3 separate regions of the Homo sapiens genome follow, and regions 1 and 3 are each linked to region 2. The links are contacts of gene promoters, found by promoter capture Hi-C in human tissues and cell types (Jung and others, 2019). All regions are on one chromosome and are shown on one strand. The core of a region is centred on a gene start or on the middle of the fragment in contact, and the rest is flanking DNA. Distances in the headings are between cores, read along the strand shown.

Region 1 (2,700 bases), core at 41-2,540, 560 kb before region 2:
AGGCTGGTCGTGAACTCCTGACCTCATGATCCACCCCCTTCGGCCTCCCAAAGTGCTGGGATTACAGGTGTGAGCCACAATTTTGTGTCTTTTAACAAATCTTTCCCTGTCCCTTCCTTCCCCCTGCTCTTCCCAGCCTCCAGTATCCTCTGTTCTTTCACTTCTATGAAATCAACTTTTTAAAAGCGTCACATATGAGTGAGAACATGCAGTGTTTTAACTTTCTGTTCGTGGCTTAAGTCAGTTAACATGTCCTCCAGTTCCATCCATGTTGCTGCAAATGACAGGATTTTCTTCTTTTTAATGGCTGAAAAGTATTCCATTGTGTATATACACCCTATTTCCTTTATTCATCTGTTGTTGGACACAGAGATTGATTTCCTATTTTGGCTACTCTAAGTAGTGCTGCAATAAATATGGGGGTGCATAAATATGGAGTGCAGACGTCTCTTGGATATACTGATTTCCTTTTTTTTTTTCCTCCTAAATTGGCTTCCTCAGGTTGAATTATGTCCTTTCCTTTGGATAAATGTCTATGGCTGTGTTTTTAACCACAATACTATGCTTCCTTCCTCAAGGATTTTTGACTTTATCTTGTAGATGATGTGGAGCCATTAAAAATGTTTGAGGACAGGAGTGGCAAAACGTGGGTTTTTAGAAAGTTTCCTACTAGCAGCAGTGTAGAAAATGGACTGGAGCGGAGAGAATGACCTCTTCTAAAAGAAAATGTGAGCTGGGGGCGCAGGCTTATGCCTGTAATCCCAGCACTTTGGGAGGCCGAAGCGGGCGGATCACCTGAGGTCAGGAGTTCGAGACCAGCCTGGCCAACACGGTGAAAGCTGTCTCTACTAAAAATACAAAAATTAGTTGGGCATGGTGGCGGGCGCCTGTAATCCCAGCTACTCGGGGGACTGAGGCAGGAGAATCGCTTCAGCCCGGGGGACGGAGGTTGCAGTGAGCCGAGATCGTGCCACTGCACTCCAGTCTGGCGACAGAGCGAGGCGAGACTCCGTCCCTACGGAAAAAAAAAACCATATATATATATAAAATAAAAATAAATAAAATAAAATGTGTTGACTTAGGGTTATGGGGGTCTTCGTACCACCAAGTGGACTCATTGAGCAAGGGAGATCGCTGGGTACTAGAGCAAGCGGCCTAGAGCATCCGCGCAGGAGTAGGAGAGGCTGAAGAGTAAAGAGGGTTTAGAGGGTGGGACTGGGAGTCTCTCGACACTCTGTTACTTCTGCCTGTAAACGCCCGACTTCCGCCGCTGGTGGCCACCCGCAGGTAGTGATGTCGAGCGTCGAGCTCCCAAAACCGAGCTGGTGAGGGGCTGCAGGTGGCGGCGCAGTCTCGGTAGGCGGTATGAGTTTGGCTGGGGGCCGGGCACCCCGGAAGACCGCTGGGAACCGGCTTTCTGGGCTTTTGGAGGCAGAGGAGGAAGATGAGTTCTACCAGACGACTTATGGGGGTTTCACAGAGGCAAGATCCGGGCCTGGGAAAAGGGAGGGGAGGAGGCAAAGAGGAGCCCTGAAGGGAGAAACCCCGGACAAAGAAGAAGAGGGCGGGGAATAGAGAGGAGCTCTGGGAGCTGATACTCGAGTTGGGTGGGTGAATCGGAGCCGGGGGGCGAGGCGGGGGAACGGATAGTGTGGAGTCCTAGAAGGGAGAGCTCTGGATGGGGTCAAAGGGGCCTGAGACGGAGAAGCTCTCCGGAGGCACTCCAGAGAACAGAGAACGGCAGAAACCTACCGTATACTTGCGTGGTTGCATCTTTCACTGTACTTCTGACGTCCAGCATACACGAGGCACACACATAGTAGTAGACAGTTGCTCGATGTATACTCGTTGGCCCACTGCTGGATTATTCACCTGAGACATGGAAAGGAACCGCTCCAAAAGTAGAGGAGCTTAGCCCACTTCTTTTTCAGCTTTCAGGTCTCAGTGTAAATGTTTTCTCAGGAAGATAACCCTTCCTTGACTATCCTAACAAGTGTCCCCATTTATTTCTTCCACAGAACATATTTCAATTTGCAATTAGATTTGGTTTGCTTACTTGCTTATGCTTTTCTATTGCATTGTAAACTGTATAAAGTTAGAGATGGTCTGTTTTGTTCAACATTATGTGTGAGGTGTCCGGACTGGGCTGCCACTTGCTAAATTTTTATTAGTTGAATCTACCCGTTTATTAAATGTGTTGAGTACCCAGAGCATGCCATCGGTAATAGGTTGTTTTAGGCTCTAGGGAAACAGAATATTAAAAACAGTGCTCTGTCCTTACATACTCCATGCCCCAGTGGGGTAACTGCCTGGGTTAACAGTTAAAATACTGTGTGATAGGCCGAGCACAGTGGCTTTGGCCGGGCACAGTGGCTCACGCCTGTAATCCCAGCACTTTGGAAGGCCGAGGCGGGTGGATCACAAGGTCAGGAAATCGAGACCATCCTGGCCAACATGGTAAAACCCCCTGTCTCTATTAAAATACAAAAATTAGCCAAGCGTGGTGGTGTGCGCCTATAGTCCCAGCTACTCAGGAGGCTGAGGCAGAGAATCGCTTGAACCTGGGAGGAGGAGGTTGCAGTGAGCCGAGATCGTACCACTGCACTCCAGCCTGGGCGACAGAGCAGGACTCCGTCTCAAAAACAAACAAAAAATGTGTGATAAGGACTAAAACAAGGTGTAAGAGTGTTAAGGTAATAC
Region 2 (2,700 bases), core at 85-2,584:
CCTGGCTAATTTTTGTATTTTTAGTAGAGACGGGGTTTCTCCATGTTGACCAGGATGGTTTCTATCGCCTGACATCATGATCCACCCTCATCGGCCTCCCAAGGTGCTGGGATTACATGCGTGGGCCACCGTGCCCAGCCTTGTTTTGTATTTCTAGTAGAGACAGGGTTTCACCATGTTGGCCAGGCTGGTTTCGAACTCCTGACCTCAAGTGATTCGCCCGCCTACGCCTCCCAGAGTGCTGGCATTACAGGCGTGAGTCACCGCGCCCAGCCAGGCCTGTAAGCTTTCTAAGGGCAGAGACTGCCTTACTATACACGTACCCCCCCCAACTAACACAGTACCATCCACATACAGACAGACGCCCAGGAAATGTTAAACTGTAATTCTGGATAGGTTAACTAGTATTAACCGTATTTACCAAATGTTTACCACATACTTACACTGTCCTCCTTGTTTCAAGGAGCGTAGTCCCCAAGGGATCACCCTGATGGAATATAAAAACTACACATAAGAGTGAAACTACGGAACGTAAGCCATTAGTGTTTTGCAAGACAGCTCGGGTTGAGACTCAGTCTCTCTCTTCCACAGGCCAAGTGACACATCGTAATACCATTGGTACCGTTTTATTTTATTTTTCGCGACAAAGTCTCGTCCTGTCACCCAGGCTGGAGTGCAGTGGCGCGATTTCGGCTCACTGCAACCTCCGCCTGCAGGGTTCAAGCGATTCTCCTGCCTCAGCCTCCCAAGTAATTGGGATTACAAACGCCCGCCACCACGCCCGGCTAATATTTGTATTTTTAGTAGAGACGGGGTTTCACCATGTTGGTCAGGCTGGTCTCGAACTCCTAACCTCAGGTGATCCGCCCACCTCGGCCTCCCAAAGTGCTAGGATTACAGGCGTGAGGCACCGCGCCCGGCCTGTTAGTACTACTTTAAAATCGAATCTGACCTCCAAATCATTTTCTGGAGCTCGATCATTTTCTGCTAACACCGCAAAGCTTAATCCTCTCCACCTGAGAATAAAAGGTTCCATCCTTCCGCTCTCCAGTTTGACGCCCTGCTAAGTCTCTCGGACGCGGTGGGCTGGAGTGAAGGAAGCCGGAGCCCACCAAAGCTGCAAAAGTACCACAGCCAGCAGCCCCGCCCCCGATATCCCCCACAGGCTTCCAATTGGTCCTTGTGGCTCACTCTCTTTCCAGGTTGGTGTTCCAGCTTGCCGGTCGCCTCTATAGAGCCCACCTTTAGACGGCGACTATTGGTAGATCGTTACGTCATTGCCCTATCTACCTCACTCCCACTGGCTCTCATAGGAAGGGGCGGTCGCAACGTCACGGGCAAGGGCCGCCATTTTGACTGAGCAACCCTAGTGACAGGAGCCGAAGCAGCAGCGCAGGTTGTCCCCGTTTCCCCTCCCCCTTCCCTTCTCCGGTTGCCTTCCCGGGCCCCTTACACTCCACAGTCCCGGTCCCGCCATGTCCCAGAAACAAGAAGAAGAGAACCCTGCGGAGGAGACCGGCGAGGAGAAGCAGGTGAAGTGGAAGGGGTGCGGGCGGGCGAGCTGGGGAGACCGTGATGGGGCGGGAGACGGTCTCCCACCAGTGCGGATTGGTCGCCATGGTCTCAGGCTCCGCAGGGGTTGGCCACTTTTTGCGTCACGCTGGGTGAGCTTCAACACGACATGCTGCTTTGGCGCTGGTTAGTTGGGTCGTTTGTCACTCAGTACTGTACTCTTCCTGATTGGCCAATAGGCCTACCGCTCAAACCTTGGACGCTGTGCTATAATTGGCCGAGCATGGACGTGGGGCGGGTGGTTGGAAAGACGGTGAATGGAAAGGGGATGGCTGGTGGTCTTGGGTGTGATGTGTGTTATTGGTTTGTAGAGGTAAGTGACCCAGCAACCGGGCTGGGGCCCGCAGCCTCAATCCGCAAAGATAGGGGTCGAGGTAAAGACGTTTAAAAAAAAACCAGTATTGGGGGAGGGGAGAAGTGTAGTTATTATAATGGCTAGTTTAAGGCGGCAACTTTCTCAAGAGACCTATTTTAGTAGCTAAGGATGGTCTATTGCTCACCTTCAGTGAGGACCCAGCAATATTGAAGAGGGCTAGAGTTCCAAACAGAATCATGGTAATTAAACTTGGAAAAGACGCCGACAGGGTCGTGAGAAAGACACTTCTCTCTTCCCCTAGACTTCCAAGGCAGGGACTTAGTGCACCTGCGATTCCGTGATGGAAACACTAACGCCAAATAAACCCCTTATTGGGGTTTGTATTTGACTTTTAAAATTTAGTACTGGGTTCAGGTACTCATTAAATACACTTGGTGTTATATCTATGCGTAATTTCCAAGAGAAAGGAATATAATTCCACTAAAAAGAGTCATACGTTGACTTCATATCTTTTCAAAAAGTCACTAAAGGGCAGCAGGGACCACAAAAAAAAAAAAAAGAGATTGACTACAGTAGTGAGAGTCCCTGCACCACCAGGGTAGGTATTGATTTTTTTGATGAAAACTGGTGGGTAAATACTAGTGAGCCTACTGTATCTTTGTTTTCCTGAGGTTAAAAACAGTATCATTTTCCTCTCTGTTTATCAGCTTGCTACCATAATATTTGTGGAAATGTTGAAGCAAGGCTGTGCCATTACTCAGGTGGAGATCTTTGGAGAAGGCCACATAGCTAGCCGCCTCCACAGGGAGACC
Region 3 (2,700 bases), core at 158-2,657, 620 kb after region 2:
ACAAGTTAACTTCTTTTCCTTATCTGTAAAATGTGAGCATTCAAGTAAATGAAATAGTTACTGTGTTGGGAATAAAAGAAAAGAAAGGATCTTCCAAACAGAAAGTATAGAATGTACAGTGTGCAATGATGATATGAATGACTAAGTTGTGAGTGGGGGGAATATATGAGAGTGACTGTAGAGAATGTGGGTTGGGCAAGTCATGAGTAGAGCAGGCAAGAGGGTGGAGGGGACTCAGAAGCCAGACTCTGTTGGGTGTTGATAGAAGGGTCAATAGAATCATTGTAGGTCCTTGAACAAAGGACGGATTTAATGAGAAATATTGAGCCCTTTGGTTCAGGAACTCAGGGACAAGGAATCAGGCAGGCATCCGTACATTGTGACTCTTATTTTCTGTACCATCCTAACCTGAAGGGATACAGCCAGGAGGCATAAGATTCCTTGTAGAAGTTTTTGTGTTTACACACCTTACTATGCTGAGCCTGCTTGTTCCTGTCTCGTAGTGCACCAACCTGTGGGGAAGTCTCAAGACTATGGCCGGATTCTCCTCAAGAGCTTATAGTAAGGACAGCATTATGTTTCAAGTGCATTTAACTCTCAGTTGTCTCTGCTAATGTAGGGAGCACTGTTGTAGGTAATTCAGAACTTAACAAAGACATTTCCTGGTTATTTTCAACTGTGTTTTTTTTAGGATTATACCTTATCCCTTTATTTCCTCTAAGAAATAGTTTTAGATAAGAAAAATTACTAAACTGTTATTTGTAGTGACCCACTATGAGTTTAATTCTTTGCTAGGTGCTATGGAGGTTTAGGAAAAATGACAACTTTGCTCCCAGACTGAAGTACAGTGGCGCAATCTCAGCTTACTGCAAGCTCTGCCTCCCAGGTTCATGCCATTGTCCTGCCTCAGCCTCCCGAGTAGCTGGGACTACAGGCGCCCACCACCACGCCCGGTTAATTTTTTGTATTTTTAGTAGAGACGGGGTTTCACCGTGTTAGCCAGGATGGTCTTGATCTCCTGACCTCGTGATCCGCCTGACTCGGCCTCCCAAAGTGCTGGGATTACAGGCGTGAGCCAGTGTGCCGGGCCGAAAATACATTATTTTTTAAACTAGATTTATTTTCATTTTTGGGGATCATACTAATATTGAAATAAATTTGCATTTCTAAGCTTATATTACCTGATGGTGGGGAGAGTACACTGATGATGAAGAACAGTCATTCTTGCATTAAAGATTTGGCCTTAGAAATCCGTAAAATGAATAATCCATTTGTAGATAATTAAGACTAGACTACACTGAATATGTTGATAGACCAATTTCTTTTCAAAATCTGTATGGATCCAATGTGGCCTCCTAGGCTGTCTGTCTTATGTCTGAGAATGACTGGCAGGTGATGCTTGTGTTCCAGCCAGAATGAGCCTTCATTCACAGTATCTGGACGAATGCCACTACATTATGTTGTGTTGTTGAAGATTAAGCCGGCTTTCTCAAAGGACTTGTGCTTTGTAGAGGCTCTTCCAGATATCAGCTTCATTGAAAATCTGTCAGACTTTTCCTCCTGTAGGAAAGTTGTTTGAAAGTATGTCCAATTAAAAAAAAAAGGAATGGGCAGAAGTGTCCACATTTAAGAAGTAAACAAAATCACATGCCATTCTTTCATCCCTTTTTTTTCTTCTCCAGTTGACTTGCTTTTCTCCATCCCTGCCACTCTCCCCCACCTCTTTATAATCATTACCAAACTGATGTCACGAGCACAGGATTATTATTTACTTCTTGAGTCAGGAGATTGTAGTATTTCTGAGCTAGAAATCAGGTGGAAAAGTCAGGAATCTTATTTTATACAACTAGATAGGGATTATTTTCAACTGTGCTTTTTTTAGGATTATACCTTAGCCCTTTATTTCCTCTAAGAAATAGCTGTAGATAAGAAAATTACTAAACTGTTATTTGTAGTGACCCACTATGAGTTTAATTCTTTGCTAGGTGCTATGGAGGATTAGGAAAAATGACAACTTTGTGTCCTTGAAGAGTTTACAGTCCAGTTGGGAGTAAGAAGAATAAAAAGGAATGAATACTTGCTGAGCCTCTTAATATGCCACACAAAATTTTAAAATGTGAAACTATATTGTTAGTTGCATAGTGCAGACCTCATACCGTAGGTATTTGGGGAGAGGAGTACTCAGGTAGTTATGTCACAGAGGAATTATAACTCATTTCAGATCTTAATAAAAAAATAGGCCAGGCACAGTGGCTCACGCCTGTAATCCCAGCTACTCAGGAGGCTGAGGCAGGAGAATCACTTGAACCCAGGAGATGGAGGTTGCAAACAGCCGAGATAGCACCACTGCACTCCAGCCTGGGTGACAGAGCAAGACTCTGTCTCCAAAATAAATAAAAAAATAAATGAATAAGTGTTATTGTATTAGGTACAAGGGATGAAGATGAAGAGGATAACAAAACATTTCATATTGGAGCTGAAAGGGATCAAGCGAAAGCCTGGAAACAGGACTATACCTGAGATGTTCTTGGGGCGGTGAGGAGACTAACCTGAGTGGCAGTGAGCAGTAGTGAAATGAAGGTGGGTAGGTTGGTTTGGAGCTATGTTTATAGAGGGTGTTAAAAAGCTAGGCTTATAAGTTTATATATATATATAAAATTTATTTATTTATTTATTTATGTATTTATTTATTTATTTTTT

Evidence for each region. Contacts are between HindIII fragments. The study calls those that stand out against the background at their distance.
Region 1: the fragment with the promoter of VPS72 here is called in contact with the fragment with the promoter of ENSA in region 2 in 1 of the 25 tissues and cell types used here (adrenal gland).
Region 3: a contact is called between a fragment that was not itself captured here and the fragment with the promoter of ENSA in region 2, in 1 of the 25 tissues and cell types used here (hippocampus).

What each region holds. Positions count from the first base shown.
Region 1 is chr1:151,188,787-151,191,486 of GRCh38, reverse strand. VPS72 (vacuolar protein sorting 72 homolog) reads left to right here and starts at 1,290. Exons shown (of 6, transcript NM_005997.3): 1 at 1,290-1,482. The coding sequence starts at 1,366. RefSeq lists enhancers at 1,146-1,205, 1,246-1,315. The HindIII fragment of the contact is 20,238 bases long and covers 1-2,700 here.
Region 2 is chr1:150,628,246-150,630,945 of GRCh38, reverse strand. ENSA (endosulfine alpha) reads left to right here and starts at 1,334. Exons shown (of 4, transcript NM_004436.4): 1 at 1,334-1,532. The coding sequence starts at 1,476. LOC112268239 (a long non-coding RNA gene) reads right to left here and starts at 1,127. Exons shown (of 2, transcript XR_007066603.1): 1 at 444-1,127. RefSeq lists enhancers at 1-639, 640-1,607, 1,350-1,619. The HindIII fragment of the contact is 5,200 bases long and covers 645-2,700 here.
Region 3 is chr1:150,004,566-150,007,265 of GRCh38, reverse strand. All of the region lies in intron 1 of OTUD7B (OTU deubiquitinase 7B), which reads left to right. Among named protein-coding and RNA genes, the nearest start is that of OTUD7B, 4.8 kb to the left of the region's middle. The HindIII fragment of the contact is 6,747 bases long and covers 1-2,700 here.